Linked DNA regions of Homo sapiens: regions 1 and 2 are each linked to region 3. Evidence: promoter capture Hi-C in human tissues and cell types (Jung and others, 2019). All regions are on one chromosome and are shown on one strand. Each heading gives the region's core, a stretch centred on a gene start or on the middle of the fragment in contact. The rest is flanking DNA. Distances are from core to core; before and after follow the strand shown.

The links. Contacts are between HindIII fragments. The study calls those that stand out against the background at their distance.
Region 1: a fragment that was not itself captured here is called in contact with the fragment with the promoter of KLF3 in region 3 in 1 of the 25 tissues and cell types used here (lymphoblastoid cells).
Region 2: a contact is called between a fragment that was not itself captured here and the fragment with the promoter of KLF3 in region 3, in 1 of the 25 tissues and cell types used here (spleen).

What each region holds. Positions count from the first base shown.
Region 1 is chr4:37,795,819-37,800,303 of GRCh38, reverse strand. No RefSeq gene overlaps it. Among named protein-coding and RNA genes, the nearest start is that of PGM2, 29 kb to the left of the region's middle. The HindIII fragment of the contact is 3,117 bases long and covers 542-3,658 here.
Region 2 is chr4:37,989,099-37,993,723 of GRCh38, reverse strand. All of the region lies in intron 2 of TBC1D1 (TBC1 domain family member 1), which reads right to left. Among named protein-coding and RNA genes, the nearest start is that of PTTG2, 31 kb to the right of the region's middle. RefSeq lists an enhancer at 534-703. The HindIII fragment of the contact is 3,258 bases long and covers 1-3,248 here.
Region 3 is chr4:38,662,029-38,666,621 of GRCh38, reverse strand. It overlaps KLF3 (KLF transcription factor 3), which reads right to left and starts at 2,423. Exons shown (of 6, transcript NM_016531.6): 1 at 2,161-2,423. KLF3-AS1 (KLF3 antisense RNA 1) reads left to right here and starts at 1,729. Exons shown (of 16, transcript NR_171644.1): 1 at 1,729-1,828. RefSeq lists enhancers at 1-199, 4,234-4,555, silencers at 1,683-2,032, 2,093-2,692, 2,703-2,972, 3,003-3,522 and a promoter at 2,161-2,963. The HindIII fragment of the contact is 5,536 bases long and covers 1-4,593 here.

The DNA of each region.
Region 1 (4,485 bases), core at 851-3,350, 870 kb after region 3:
GTCAAGTTTGTATCTCATGGTCTCTAGTTTGCCTGTGAATCAGAGACAAGCTATTTGTTGTTATGTTGTTTGCTGCAAGTTCTTGGGAATGAGGAGGGCAAGAGATGATGGAAGTGAGGCTTGAGAAGAATGTCTAAGAATTGAAGTGGCTCTTTGGGGGAATGGGATGAGGAGCTAAGGATTCCTGGAAGGATTGTGCCTGAGGTTATAGAGCCTGAACTTCTCAGTTGGTTCCAATCTGAAGAATGTGATTTTTTTTCCCCAGCAATGATCCAAAGTCAGGATGTGGGAACAAAGAAGGGGACACAGTCAAAAAACAAAGGCTGAAGTTTGCAGACAGGTGAAAAGAACGACAAAGGAGGGAGTGAGTTGAAGTATTGGTAGATGTGTCAGGCATTGGTTGAAGCAATAGAAATGACCCATTAATGTAAGCAGATAATGAATAGCTCATAGATCAAAGGGAAGTTTGAAGAATGAGACTTAAAAAACAGGTAGGAACCAAGAGGGATCAGACAGCCATGATTGGCATGAGCAGCCAGAACACCCTGCTGGAATGACTGTTGGAGCTGCCCAGGGGCCCCACTGGATCTGCCTTGTGTGGATGCTGGTGCTGTGAATACTTTCTAAACTCTCCAGTTGTTTCTGGTGGTCAAGAGTTGAGACCTCAGGTGGGAGCATCTAATTGGCTAAGCCTTGGTCATCTGTTCAATCTCTTCTTCCAGGAAGAAGAAGGAAGTATCTGTCCCCTTCAGCTCCCATACTAGTTGTGAATCTCCACCTCCCAACAGAATCTCATTACAGAAATTCTCCATAATTAGAAAAGGTATAATGAGGTGTGTCTGTTTCATCATGGCTGGGAAACCAGTTTCTCTGGAGTTTCCTTGGCCAAGAGGGGTACATTCAGTTGGTTGGGGTACTTAGAATTTTGTTTTTAATTTACAAGCCAAAATGAGGCTCTAAAGGAAGACTTGGGGCAATGAGGAAGAGAGTCCCTCTTTCTCTCTCTCCCTCCCTCTTTGGTAGTTGGGTCTCCTTTGTGGCTTCACCCCCTGCCCAATAGCCCGTCCCTCCTTCTGGGCATCTCCCACTAGAAAAGCCCCAGCTTTGGGACTCTGATGACACCACTTCATCCTAGTGACCTTCAATTCCTGGGGATGGTGCTGGCCTCCTGTATCTCTAATCTCTGGGTAGTCTTGCAGTTCCCTATTTGGCTTCTCAGTCCTTGTATAAATTCCTTTTATTAAATTTTCATTGTTTGAAAGACCTAGAGTGTTATCTGTTCTCCTGACTGACATGATATTGACAGCAAAAACTAAATATTGTGGAATCCACTTGATCTTCATCTCATTCTCTGGTCATCAGGTTGAGACAGAGCCTCCTGTCACCTGAGAACAATTGGGGAGTTATAATTGGAAGCAGTGTGAGTCTTGCTGTCTATCAAATCCTTTCTCTTTCCTTTTAGACACTCAGCTAGACTTGATTTCCCAATCATACAATGGATTCCTGTCTAATGGAATAAGGGTAGAATTTATGTCTGGAATTTCCACCCCTGAATCATAAAAATCTTCTTTCTCTCTCTCTTCTTTCTGCTGGCTGGACTTTAGCACTCAGGACAACATGGGAGGTACATGTTGAAGAGGTCAGAGCCTCTGTCTACCTGGGTCTTGAACTGTTGAGCTAGAGTGGACTCTTCCCACATGAACCACTACCAACTGGACTTGATATGAGTGAGAGATAAATGTTATGGTAAATCGCTGACATTTGGGGGTTTATCTGTTAATGCATCCTATGTTACCTTAGCTAACACATGATATGAGAATTTTTTTTTATTAGGGAGCATAGTGGTTAATAATGGAGATAGATGGGATTACAATCCCAGCTCTGCCACTTACTAGCTTTATGACTTTGAGCAAGTCACTAAATTCTCTCTAAGCCTCAGTTTCTTCTGCTATAAAATGGGAATAATACTATTATTCTGTGGTGGCATTGTAAGAAATTAGTAGACACACTTCTATACATAATATCTATATGCATAATTCCATACATAATTATCATATTAATACTATAGGTTTAGTTGAGAACTCAGTAACTGTTAGACATTTTTGTTACTACTCAACTAGGAGGTAGATTAGGTCTACTTTCACTGTATGCTATTTTAAGTAGGTAGTGTCTCATAACTGTAAGGTGCGTTAGTGTAAGTTAAGCAAAGTACTATTTTTAGATAAATGGAACATCATTATATAGTCAATCACATGGCCATTGAACTTTCTTCCTGGGGTTGTCATCAGATTTTTCCACTGCCATTGCTGGAAGATAACGTGATTGATTTCATGTTCTTAGAGAAACTTCAGCATGCAATTGAAAGGGTGAATAGGGACAGGACTTTATAGACCACAGCCTCACCTGACCCCCCCCCCCCCAGTTAGGACTGATTAATCCTTTCTTGCCCTCATTGTACACTTGACACTATAGGATATTTGCTTATTGCCCAGCTAACCTTGTTATGTCATCATACAGGAAATAAATGAAAGAAAGCTTAATGGAGGGGCCATGTAGAGGTCAAGGAGAACCAAGAGTGATAAAGCACTTCCAGGCTACACTGTGGGGGGCCACTGTCAGCCCTGGGCCTGGAAAAGCCAGGAACAGAAGAGCTGGTTGTAGTTCTGGAAGCAGGCTGCTTCTCAGCAGTTGTGGCTTTAGGGAAGTGCAGCCATTGTTAAGCCTTAGCAGGCATGAAGGAAGCCAGGGCAATGCTTCACTTTCCTCTTCTGCCGCCCTTCCTCTCCTGCTACCCTTCCTCTCCTCTTGTGCTTCCTAGTGGCTGAGCCCAACTGAAGCTGGAAGGCAAGGGAGCCCTGTTGATACTTTCCAGAAAAGTCAGCTTCCAGGAGCCACTGGGCAAGGTGGCGAAGGGCAGAGAATAGATCTAGAGGGGCAAAGAACATCCCACACCCAGCTCCTAAGGAACTGTGAGATTCTTACAAACAGAGTTCCTTTCTTAATGCTTTTTGTATCTTCAGCGTGCAGCAAAGAACACATAATGGATGTTAGTTGAATAAACGAATGAATGAACAAATAAATGGGGAGAACAAAAATGCTTGCACTTAAATTTTTTAAAAAATGTATAATGTCCACATATCCTTCATTTGCCCTGGAGACAGTGAAACTTCCTACTGGAAATGAGAGCTCTCACGGACTCCAGGTAGTCAGTGCTTTATGAGCCCATTGCATCCCAGGCCTCATCCATCCTTCATCACGCATTAGCAGTTGCTCTTCTCGGCTGGGGTCATTCCTTGCCAGGAGCTACCATGTCTTCCAGTGTAGATCAGCCTTTCCAGGCTATAGTGTTGTTTCTGAAGCTCTTCAAAAAGTCAAAGGGCCTCCACTGATGCCCGCTTGCCTGCCGCCCCTTATCCTAGACCTCCTTGACCTTTTCCTTGATAGCTGTTGAATTGCACTAAAACTTGCATTCCCACATTCAGGCTGATATTCCTTGTTTCTTTACTGCTGGTCCAGCACTATCCATTACTCCAGTTTTGTCAGCCAATGGATGAAAACTGTTTGCTAATAATGGCAGAAAAAGAGGGCACATAGAAATGCAATAGCTATTTCAGAACATCTCAACTCAGGGCAGGGCAGTAGCTCTCACTGGTCACACTGGGAGTACACTATGGAGTCTCTGACACTTCCCTCCTTACACAGGGTACTGTTCCGTATGATGTGTTCTTCTCCTTTTTGGCTTAGTAAAACATTTTAGAGATAAATAATGTATAATAAATAGATACCATCCCAGAGCTGTAGAAATAGGATACGTATTTACCGGCAAGAGGAAAACTTTTTTGGAAAGTTATAAAAACTCAAAGCAAATGCATAGTAGACATAGTTTTATTATGAAACGTCACTTTTTAAAAGATATAATGTTTCACATATTTTAAATCGATTTATTTGGAGACAAGTCTTTTGTCGTAGGATCAAGTATGCGTCTAAGAGGAAAATAGACGGTAGGTATATGGAAAGTGTGTTTTCTGTGGCTTTTCTGGTTGGCTTACTTGCTCTGTTTGCTCTAAAGACTATTAGGAGGAAAGTGATAACTAAGAAAACAGAAAGTTTGTTCAAAATGGTGTGGAGGAAAAAGGAAGGAAAGAAAATTTTTATCTGAAGAATGAGAGCCCCTTTAAATTATCAGGCCCCAAAAGGCACTGAATGAAACAGCAGTCACATCACTCCCCCTTGAACTAAATAATTATCTCTTGAAGCCACTTGCCATGTGGGCTCTAGACTAACTGATGCCAAGTAGCCATCAAATGCCATATGCCAGACACTATAACACTATATCCTGCAGTCCCACAGTGCATGGCCAATCATTAAGCAATGTTATTCTCTGAAAACCAGTGAGAATTCCTGTCAAAGAACTTTACATCAGACCATTCCTTGTTCCCTTTGCCTTTAGAAACCTGCTTACAACAAAAGCTAACAGAGCACTCC
Region 2 (4,625 bases), core at 370-2,869, 670 kb after region 3:
TGTAATCCCAGCTACTTGGGAGGCTGAGGCAGGAGAATTGCTTGAACCCGGGAGGCGGAGGTTGCAGTGAGTTGAGATTGCGCCACTGCATTCCAGCCTGGGCAACAGAGCGAGACTGCATCTCAAAAATAAATAAATAAATAAAGCTTTGTTGTTTGCCCCATGCCAAGGGAGTGCTACTGTATGTTGAGGGGCTTCAGTGACTTGCTGGAACTGAACTTTGATCCACTCACCACAATGCAGGAACAAGAACTCCATCTACCAAGTGGGAATTGTAGTCTCTGAATCCTAATGACATTTTCAAAAGCAAGGCTTCATCTTGATTTAGTTACAAGAGGAAAAAAATAAAGATCAGCCTTAAGGGGAGGCGCAGGGTAATGAAATCTTACTAATGTAATTCTCTCCTTTAGAATGTATTTAGTAAAATCTTTCATTTCACAGACATCTTAAAAAAGATTCTTCATAGTGTTCTGATTCTCTCTCTCTGTCTCTCCCTCTCTCTCAGGATGGCATCTACTCCCCAAAAACTAAGAAAGATGGTTTCTTTCTCTACATTTCCAGCTCTGAATTCTTTCCTAAACTTCGCTAACATTTCCAATCACCTATTTAAAGAATCACCAGGCCGGGCGCGGTGGCTCACGCCTGTAATCCCAACATTTTGGGAGGCTGAGGCAGGCGGATCACCTGAGGTCAGGAGTTCGAGACCGTCCTGGCTAACATGGTGAAACCCCATCTCTACTAAAAATACAAAATTAGCTGGGCATGATGACACACGCCTGTAATCCTGGCTACTCGGGAGGCCAAGGCAGGAGAATCACTTGAACCCAGGAGGCGGAGGTTGCAGTGAGCTGAGATCGCGCCACTGCACTCCAGCCTAGGGGACAGAGTGAGACTCTGTCTCCAAAAAAAGAAAAAAAAAAAAAAAAGAATCGGCCAGGCATGGTGGCTCACACCTGTAATCCCAGCACTTTGGGAGGCCGAGGCGGGCAGATCACGAGGTCAGGAGATCAAGACCATCTGGCTAACACGGTGAAACCCCATCTCTACTAAAAATACAAAAAACTAGCCGGGCGTGGTGACAGGCACCTGTAGTCCCAGCTACTCGGGAGGCTGAGGCAGGAGAATGGCGTGAACCCGGGAGGCGGAGCTTGCAGTGAGCCAAGATCGCGCCACTGCACTCCAGCCTGGGTGATAGAGCGAGACTCCGTCTCAAAAAAAAAAAAAAAAAAACACCAGACTTCTAGTCCTTGACCTTAAAATATCCACATCAAGCTCATTCTCTTTTCCTTAAAATAGGCCTTTCTTCCTACTTCCTTGTTTCCCAAATGCCTTCTAGGTAACTGGGCTCAAAACCTGGTAAGTGGCTTCTGCTCTTCTTTCTCCTTACTCCTTCTTTCCCTCAGCTCTTTGGGTGTATATTCTCTCACCACGAGCCCAAAACCTCAAGCGCTGGTCCGGGCCTACACTTGCTTCAGCCAGACCCCAGCAAGACCTCTCCTCTGCCGCCTCTGGCATCTCCCTACATCCATCCTGCTATCCAGCACAGCCTGATCTTCTGGAAACACAGGTCTGATGGGGTCAGCCTCCTGCTCACAAACCTTCTAGGGCTCCTCTGCAATCCCTACCAGAACAAACACAGTCCTGCTAACCCTCAGGGTCTCCCACCAATGGGGCTCCACTCAACTCTTCCTGCCTTATTTCACCTGGCTTCTTTCTCTGTAAGTTCCGTTTGTACCAAACATGTTTCGAACACACCTCCTAAGCCTCTGTTCATTTGGGTTTCCACCTCCATACCTTTGCTCATGCAGTTTCTTCCACCTGGAATATTCTTTGTCACCCCCTGGATGGGACCTTTGAATCACTCACTCACCTTATTCACTTTCGGGATGAAATGCAGCCACAGGAGGCTGGAATGGCTGGCATCTGGTCACAGAGCCAGGCTAGACACAACTAGACCTCCCCAGTAAGGACTGGTTTTTTAGGCAACACTGGGTCCCTATGATTTGCTTTTATTTGGGATAAAATCGTCCAGTGTAAAATTTCCTTATTAGGCTAAAACCTCTAAGCCCACTAAATTTAAAAAAAAAAAAGAGAGAGAAGAGCTGCCAGTGCCCACATTTCCAGGGACTTGCAGGAATTCTCTGAAACTCACAAGCCTTACCAGGTCTGCATGCTCGTGTTCAGCAGCAGGTGCTAAGTGACTGTAAAGGGCTGTGGTGCCCACCCTGGGGTCTTCATGCAGGGCTTGAGGGTAGAGTCACCCTCTGCCCCATAGTGACAGGCCAGCTGGGCTCCACTGCCTCCATCTACTCAGTCAGGATTAGCACAAAAACTTGTTAGAGAGGTTTAAAGAGCCCCCAGATCAGCGGAGAGGTACTCCAGGACACTGTGGACTGTTCTTAACACCCACACCCAAGCCAAATCTCTGGCACCCAGAATAAAAATGATGTTTTTGAGAAGGACAATATCTAAGTTAACAGTGTATAGTCAGTTCTACTTATCCCTGATCAAAATTAACCGTGAGGTTGTAAAGTGGGATTTACTACATTTGGGAAATTATTACCTCTGTATACCAAGGGGCTACTCAGAGGTTTACAGTTCCCCACCTGCTTTCTGGCAGGCTGACTCTGTGACTGCCTTCACCACCTTCCCCCCACCCACCCCCGCCCCAGGTCAGCAGCTGGGTCTCTCTCATCTTGGCAGTTGTGTCTCAAGTGCCTGCCACAGAGTAGAGGCAAAAGAAATAGATTGTGATCAACACTGAGCTTGAAGCGGCCAGATTTCTTGACCAAGAACGTCTGGAAACACCACACTACTCCCCCAAATAGTGTAGTTATTGCAAAACAAATACAGAGTTGTGTGGTCTGGTGGTCTAGTACATCCAGCTCTTTCCTTGGGGAAAAATATCCAGAGACCACATTCTCAGCTGATTAACACACTAGAGAATTGACAAAAATCAAACTTTGGTACGATGTTCTTTCAGTTACACCAAAACTGGATGGCACAGACTTGAAGGGCTGCTTTTACTGAAACACTAGTGTGATAAAAATCCCTATGTATTATATTCACATATTTCTGGAAATGGAAGGAGAATCCCTTCCCTTCACCTGGAAATTCAGGAATACAGCTTTTTCTGGAACCGTAAGAAGGCTTTGGCCTTAGATGTACTAGCAATATTTCATGCTTATTATACAATTAATTGATTAATAATCAGTACACAAGGGGCCACAAACTCCTTACTCATAAGCGGGCTTTTGGTTGTGTTTCTGAAGTCAAATTTTACAAGTTCTAATACAGGGGTATCCAATCTTTTGGCTTCCCTGGGCCACACTGGAAGAATTGTCTTGGCCCACACATAAAATACATTAACACTAATGATAGTTGATTAGCTTAAAAAAAAAAAACTCAATGTTTTAAGAAAGTTGATGAATCTTTTTTGGGCCACATTCAAAACCATCCTGGCCTGTATGTAGCCCACAGGCCGTGGACTGGACACTTGCTCTAACATTTTAAACTTGGAAACTTACATATTTCTTTTAAAAGCCTAACACAATAGAGACTGTCACAATAGACCAGTGTAAATGTCCCTAAGCAAATAACGTCTCAAAAATCTGACAGTTTATTTCCACCTAATGACTGGTTTCCTTTGGGCCCACCCTTTAAAAAGAACTTCCGCAAAATACCACTTGGCTAATTCTCTGCCTTGGGCAGTCCTACAATTATAAATTCTGCTAAACAAATAAACTTCCTTCCTATTTTTAAAGTATTCCAAAATTGGAAACTCTGTGTCTTTGGTTGGCAAACTATTTTCTGGAGTCTAACAGCCTTAGCCATGAAGAAATTCTTCATTGCACTCTGAGAGACGAAAAAAACCAGAAACTGTCAAGGAGTCCCTCCCTACACCTATTTCAGGGAAGGGGAACTAACCCCACAGAGTTGTGACCTTGGGCAAGGTCACACAGGCTGCTGGTGGCAGAAGCCAATGTCCTCCTCTCTCCCCCATTTTCCCCTTAACTGATCTAAGTTACTTGTGGCCTAAAGAAAGCAGTTTGCTCTTGTTCTGTACTAGGGAACAGGGTTTATGTTTAATTCATGCAGAATGTGCTAGAACAACAGAAAGAATCTAAATATTAGTGTCAGCAAAAAGAATCAATCTCCGTAAAACATTTAAAGAGATTTATTCTGAGCCAGATGTGAGGACCACGACCCATGACACAACCCCAGGAGGTCCTGAGAACACGTGCTCAAGGTGGTCGGGGCTATAGCTTGCTTTATACATTTTAGGGAGACATAAGACATCAATCAATATATGTAAGGTGTACATTGGTTTGGTCTGGAAAGGTGGGACAACTTGAAGGTGGAGGGGAGGTTGCAAGTCATAGGTGGATTCAAATATTTTCTGAGTGGCAATTAGTTGAAAGCGTTATTATCTAAAGATCTGGAATCAATAGAAATAAGTGTGTAGGTTAAGACAAGGTCATAACCTGGGTGAAGACCAAGGTTTTTATCATGCAGATGAGGCCTCCAGGTAGCAGGCTTCAGAGATCTTATCAGACCTAACAAAAAATGTGCCAGACTCTTAGTTAATTCTCTCCTGGTTCAAGGAAAAGATCTGGAAAGTGAAG
Region 3 (4,593 bases), core at 1,174-3,673:
TTTATCTAAAAATTATTATGCAATCTGTACACCAGAGTACTAATTTCTAGAAGTCATTCTAAAATGTCTATTTTCCCTTTGGGTTATTTTTAAGATAGTAAAATCCATTCACAGTTCCTTTCCCATTATTTCTCTTTACTTTGTTAGCCAGGACTGTTTAACTCAAGCTTACGTTATCAGAGATTTAAGAATGTGGTGTGTGCAGACTAAGTACAGGTAAGGAAAAAAAAAAAGAAAAAAAAAGGAAAAAAAGAGCATCACTGTGCCCATAGCAACAAGAAGATTGGGTTTTAATTTAGAAACTTTGCAGTGAATAAAACAATAGCTTTCTGCAAAACTCTGTTGTCGTTTTGTACCTGACAAGGTTTTGTGGTCTAAGCAGTTACTTTTCTTTGTTATTCCCATGTTGAGATTTTTGTACTTGCATTCCCTTTCATGCAAGCTAAATGTTCTTTACAATGTATCATCATTGAACTTACCGATAGTACATTAGGTTTTTTTCTTCTAATAAATAGTTCTGCAGCAAAGCCCACTGACTGCAGAAATGAAGATACCAGTTTCTCTAGGGAGTTTAATTTAATCGAACATCTAATTTCAGGTTTCTATTAACAGCCTAAGGTCAACTAACATACCTCTTTTCAAACCAGAAGAAATCACTCGTGGACACTTTCCTTAAACACTATTACTAACTCCAAAAAATTTGTAGATATTAATGCTAGCAGATTGTTTTTTCCCCTAAAAGCAAGTCTTCTTCCCTAGGGTGAGGCAGATCATCCAGATGAATTTCTCTTATAAAAATGCTCCTCAAATTCGTACAGAAAAGGATAGCACAAAACTGCTGTGTGGAAAAACCTATAATGAACAACTGGCCTATTCCCCACTTGATTTTGCTGGCACATTTCAGGTACTTGTCAGAATACCACTTCATACTTTTTCCCATATACCAGACTCTTGTGAGAATATAATCAATATATTTAAAATGTCTTGGGTGATATTAATGGAAACATAAATTCTGAGTAAGAAATTCAGTGGTTAAGTGTAAAATGTTTATTTTAGTGAAATACAAGAAGGTGAGCAATTTCCAATTTCCGTTTAACTTGACTTATTAAAAATAAGTCTCATTCACATTCTTCTAGTATTATTGTATACTGCTATAAAATTTAAACCAGAAAAGTGCTTCTCCTTGTCAGTAGCTATCTGCCCAAAAAAATGAATATGACAATTCCAGATCTCATCTGCCATCTCTAAGAAAGCCACTTGGAAATGTTAGGTAGGTCCCATGGGTCCTGATCCAGGGATCTGTCCCTGGGTCCCCATCAGGCTCGGCTGCAGGCAGTTGCCTAAGGCGTCTTCCGCCTTCAGCCACGCTGCAATCCTTGCTCCAGGCACTGCGGCAGGTTCTCTCCATGCCCCCAGGAAGACTCTCCAAACCCGACCAGCTCATTTCTCCTGCCCCGGAGGATCCAGACGCCCTGGCAGCTCCTGGGCTCCAGAACCGAGAATGGGATGCTGCCTCCAATCCCAATTGCCCTAAGTTTCTTTCCAGAGGGCCGGGAGACTGCTCCAAGTTTGCTGTGGCGGGCGAGCGGCCGCGCGCCGTGTCCTGGGAGGGGGGCGGCGGGGGGCGCGGGCGGAGGGAGGGGAGGGGAAGGACGCGGGAGCCTGGGTTGTGGTGGTGGTGGGGGGGCACCGGGAGGGGGAGGAGCAGGAGCGCGCGGCCGCGGCGCTACCTTTCTCCAAACAACGTTGCCACACGCGGAGAGCACGGAGATTTCTGGGGCTTTGGAGGGAATCGTGAGCGGGCGGGAGGAGGCCGGGGACCACACAGGTGAGCCCCCGCCCGCGCCCTGCCCGGGACGGCGGCGGGCGCTGCCAGCCCCGCTCCCCCGCACCCGGGGTCCGCACGGTGCCTCGCCTCAACCCCTCACTTTTCACCGCGAACCCGTGACCCCCTCCTCCTTGCTTGCTCTCCGCCCCCACCCCGGCTAAGTGTAGCCGCCACACTTTCCCAAGCCCGCAGGCGCCCCCCCCAACACCAGCGCTGCACCCCCGACCCATTCCCCGCGGCCCCCTCCAGGAGAAAAAATGAAACCAGACTGGCCGAGGAGGGGGGCGGCAGGGACCAGGGTGCGGAGCAGAGGTGAGGGAGACGGGACTTACTTTGCGAGGCGCGGTGCAGGGCGCCGCCGACGAGAAATAAAGGCCCCGATACGGGCTGCCTGGAGCCCCCCGAGCGCAGCAATGTCAGGGCTCCAGTCCGGGCGGCGTTGGCGGCCGCAGGGGACGGGGACGGGCGCGCGTGCGGCGGGCGCTCTCGCTGCGCTCCGGCTCGGGCCCCGGCTCCGCGCGGCTCCGCTCCTGGCTCCCCTCTGGCTCCTGGCACCAACTCCGGGCAGTCACATGACGCCGGCGCCGCTCGCTCTGCGAGCCTCCCGGGGCTGGCGGGGTAAGTAGAGGCTGGGACCCGGGGTGGGAGGGTCAGGGAGGGGAGAGGGAGCCGCCGCGGCCGCCCGGGCTGGGCGGGTCCCCACCCACTTGGGTGGAGGCAGCCGCCGGAGGGGTCGGCCGAGTCACTCGCGCAAACACGCACCCCGCCCTGCGCCCTTCCCCCGCCACCCCCGCCTCCCGCGCCGCCTCCGCCCCGCCCCGCCCAGTCACCCGGGGACGGCCTGACAGACACTCATTATTCCCCGGAGCCGGGCGCCGCCCCGCCGGCCCAACCTGTCCCACGAGGCGCGGCGCGGCCGTGGGGCTGGGCGTGCGCGGCGCGGCCTCCGCCCCCCGCCCGCGTCCCCGCCCGCGTCCCCTCCCCGCGCCCTCCTCCCCGGAGTCCGCGCCCCGCCAGCCCTCCCGCCCGGCCCAGCCGCCGCGCCGCCGCCCGAGCCCGGGGGGAAGGAAGGGCGGCGCTGCCCGCTCCGGGCGTCACACGGCTGCGGCCCGCTGCGCTGCTTCCAAAACACACAGCCGGGCTCGCGGGCGAGCCGAGGCGGGGGGCGCGGGCTGCCAGGGCCATCGATCAGCCGGCTCCAGCGGGAAGGGCGGCCCCGGGCGCGGCGGGAAGGGCTGGGCCCCGCGGCCGGCGCGGCGCGGCGCGGCCCCTCCTCGGCTGAGCGCACTCAGCTCACTGCAAGAGAAAAGCCGAGCCGAGGCGGCCGCGGTGCAGGAGCGAGTGGGCCGGGCGGGTTCGGGAGGGGAAGAGCGGCCGCTGGGGCGCGCCGAGCCTCCCTGGCCCCGAGTCGCCGGGGTCAGGGGACACCCTGTAGGCGCGCTCTTTCTTTGTGCCCTGGGGCGACGGGTCCCCCTGGCCGGCGGCCCAGGCGGCGCCCCCCACCTCGTGGGACTTTTCTTTGAAGGCCCGGAGACCCCTGGGGCAAAACTCCCACGGGCCAGGCCTGCCGCTGGAGCTAAAAAGCGGCATTTGCGCAGTTGGGCTTGCCTGGAAACTTGGCAAACTTTGGTCGGATCCTCCCCTGCAGAGCGAGGGCCTGGCCTGGCGACCCCCTCATTTCAAGTCGCTTCTAGGGACCTAGCGCCCTAAGCTCAGTGGCCTTCAGGGTGCTGCGAGCGAGCGGGGCGGCACAAAAGCGCGTTCGGTCCAAGCCAGGCCCCTTCGAGGACTTTGTGTAGATTGGTACCTAAGTTTAATGCCTTTTGAGTTTCTTTTTAAACAGTATTAATGTAATAATTAATGTAATAAAAAGAACAAAGGACGAATTCGTTCGATTGTTTTAAGTTCTGTGTAATGTTTAAAACCGCCCCTGCTTCAGTGTATGGCTTATTATTGCTTCAAGATGTTTTAAAGGCCCTTTAAGTTGACCCATCTCGCTTTGATGCTTCATCCAGACATCGTGCTGCTTAAAACGGAGTGATAATAGTATATTTCGAGCCGCTTCATGTAGCTACACAGTATTGTAAAATTAGTACTCGGTAACCTCAAGTAGTGAAATCGCATATTTTAAATAACGCAAGTCCAGGAAAGGCCACGTGGAGGATACCCAGAACCGACGCCGGCTCATGGGACGTCGTGCTGTCCCATAAGCTTCATCTTTAAAATGTAAAGGGTGTGAGTTTTTTTTTTCTTCATAATGAATAAAAGACATTCCAGAAAAAAAAAGAGTTGGATTCGTGTCAATTACTAATTGCCATTTATTGATCACTGACATCATTAAATGGCTGATTGGCTGCCTTAAGGTTTGCATTAGCGGAACACCGTGCTAGGAATGGCTGGTGAAACTGGCTCATAGTAGGTGCTCAAAAAAGTACGTTTTTTTCTCCAGGGACACAGTGACGAGAACTTGAAGCACATAAACCATGTTTTTTACCTTGTTCATGTGGGTGTGGACGCAAAGGGGAAGAGCGAAATAGGCCTGTCGGAGAAAAGTGTGACCCAAGATAAGAAGGGAGTGGTTTTGATATGGAAGGGGCAGGCGGCAAAGGAGAAGAAAAGCCATTTTAAACAGTTAATTAGTGAACACTGTGTTCGGTGCCCTGTGGGAAGCTGCTCAAATGCAACTTGTCGGAAATGAATCTATCTAGTGCTGGGTAGCTCAGTGAAGGACACCATCATTCTTCAAAGTGCCCAACAGGGTGGGG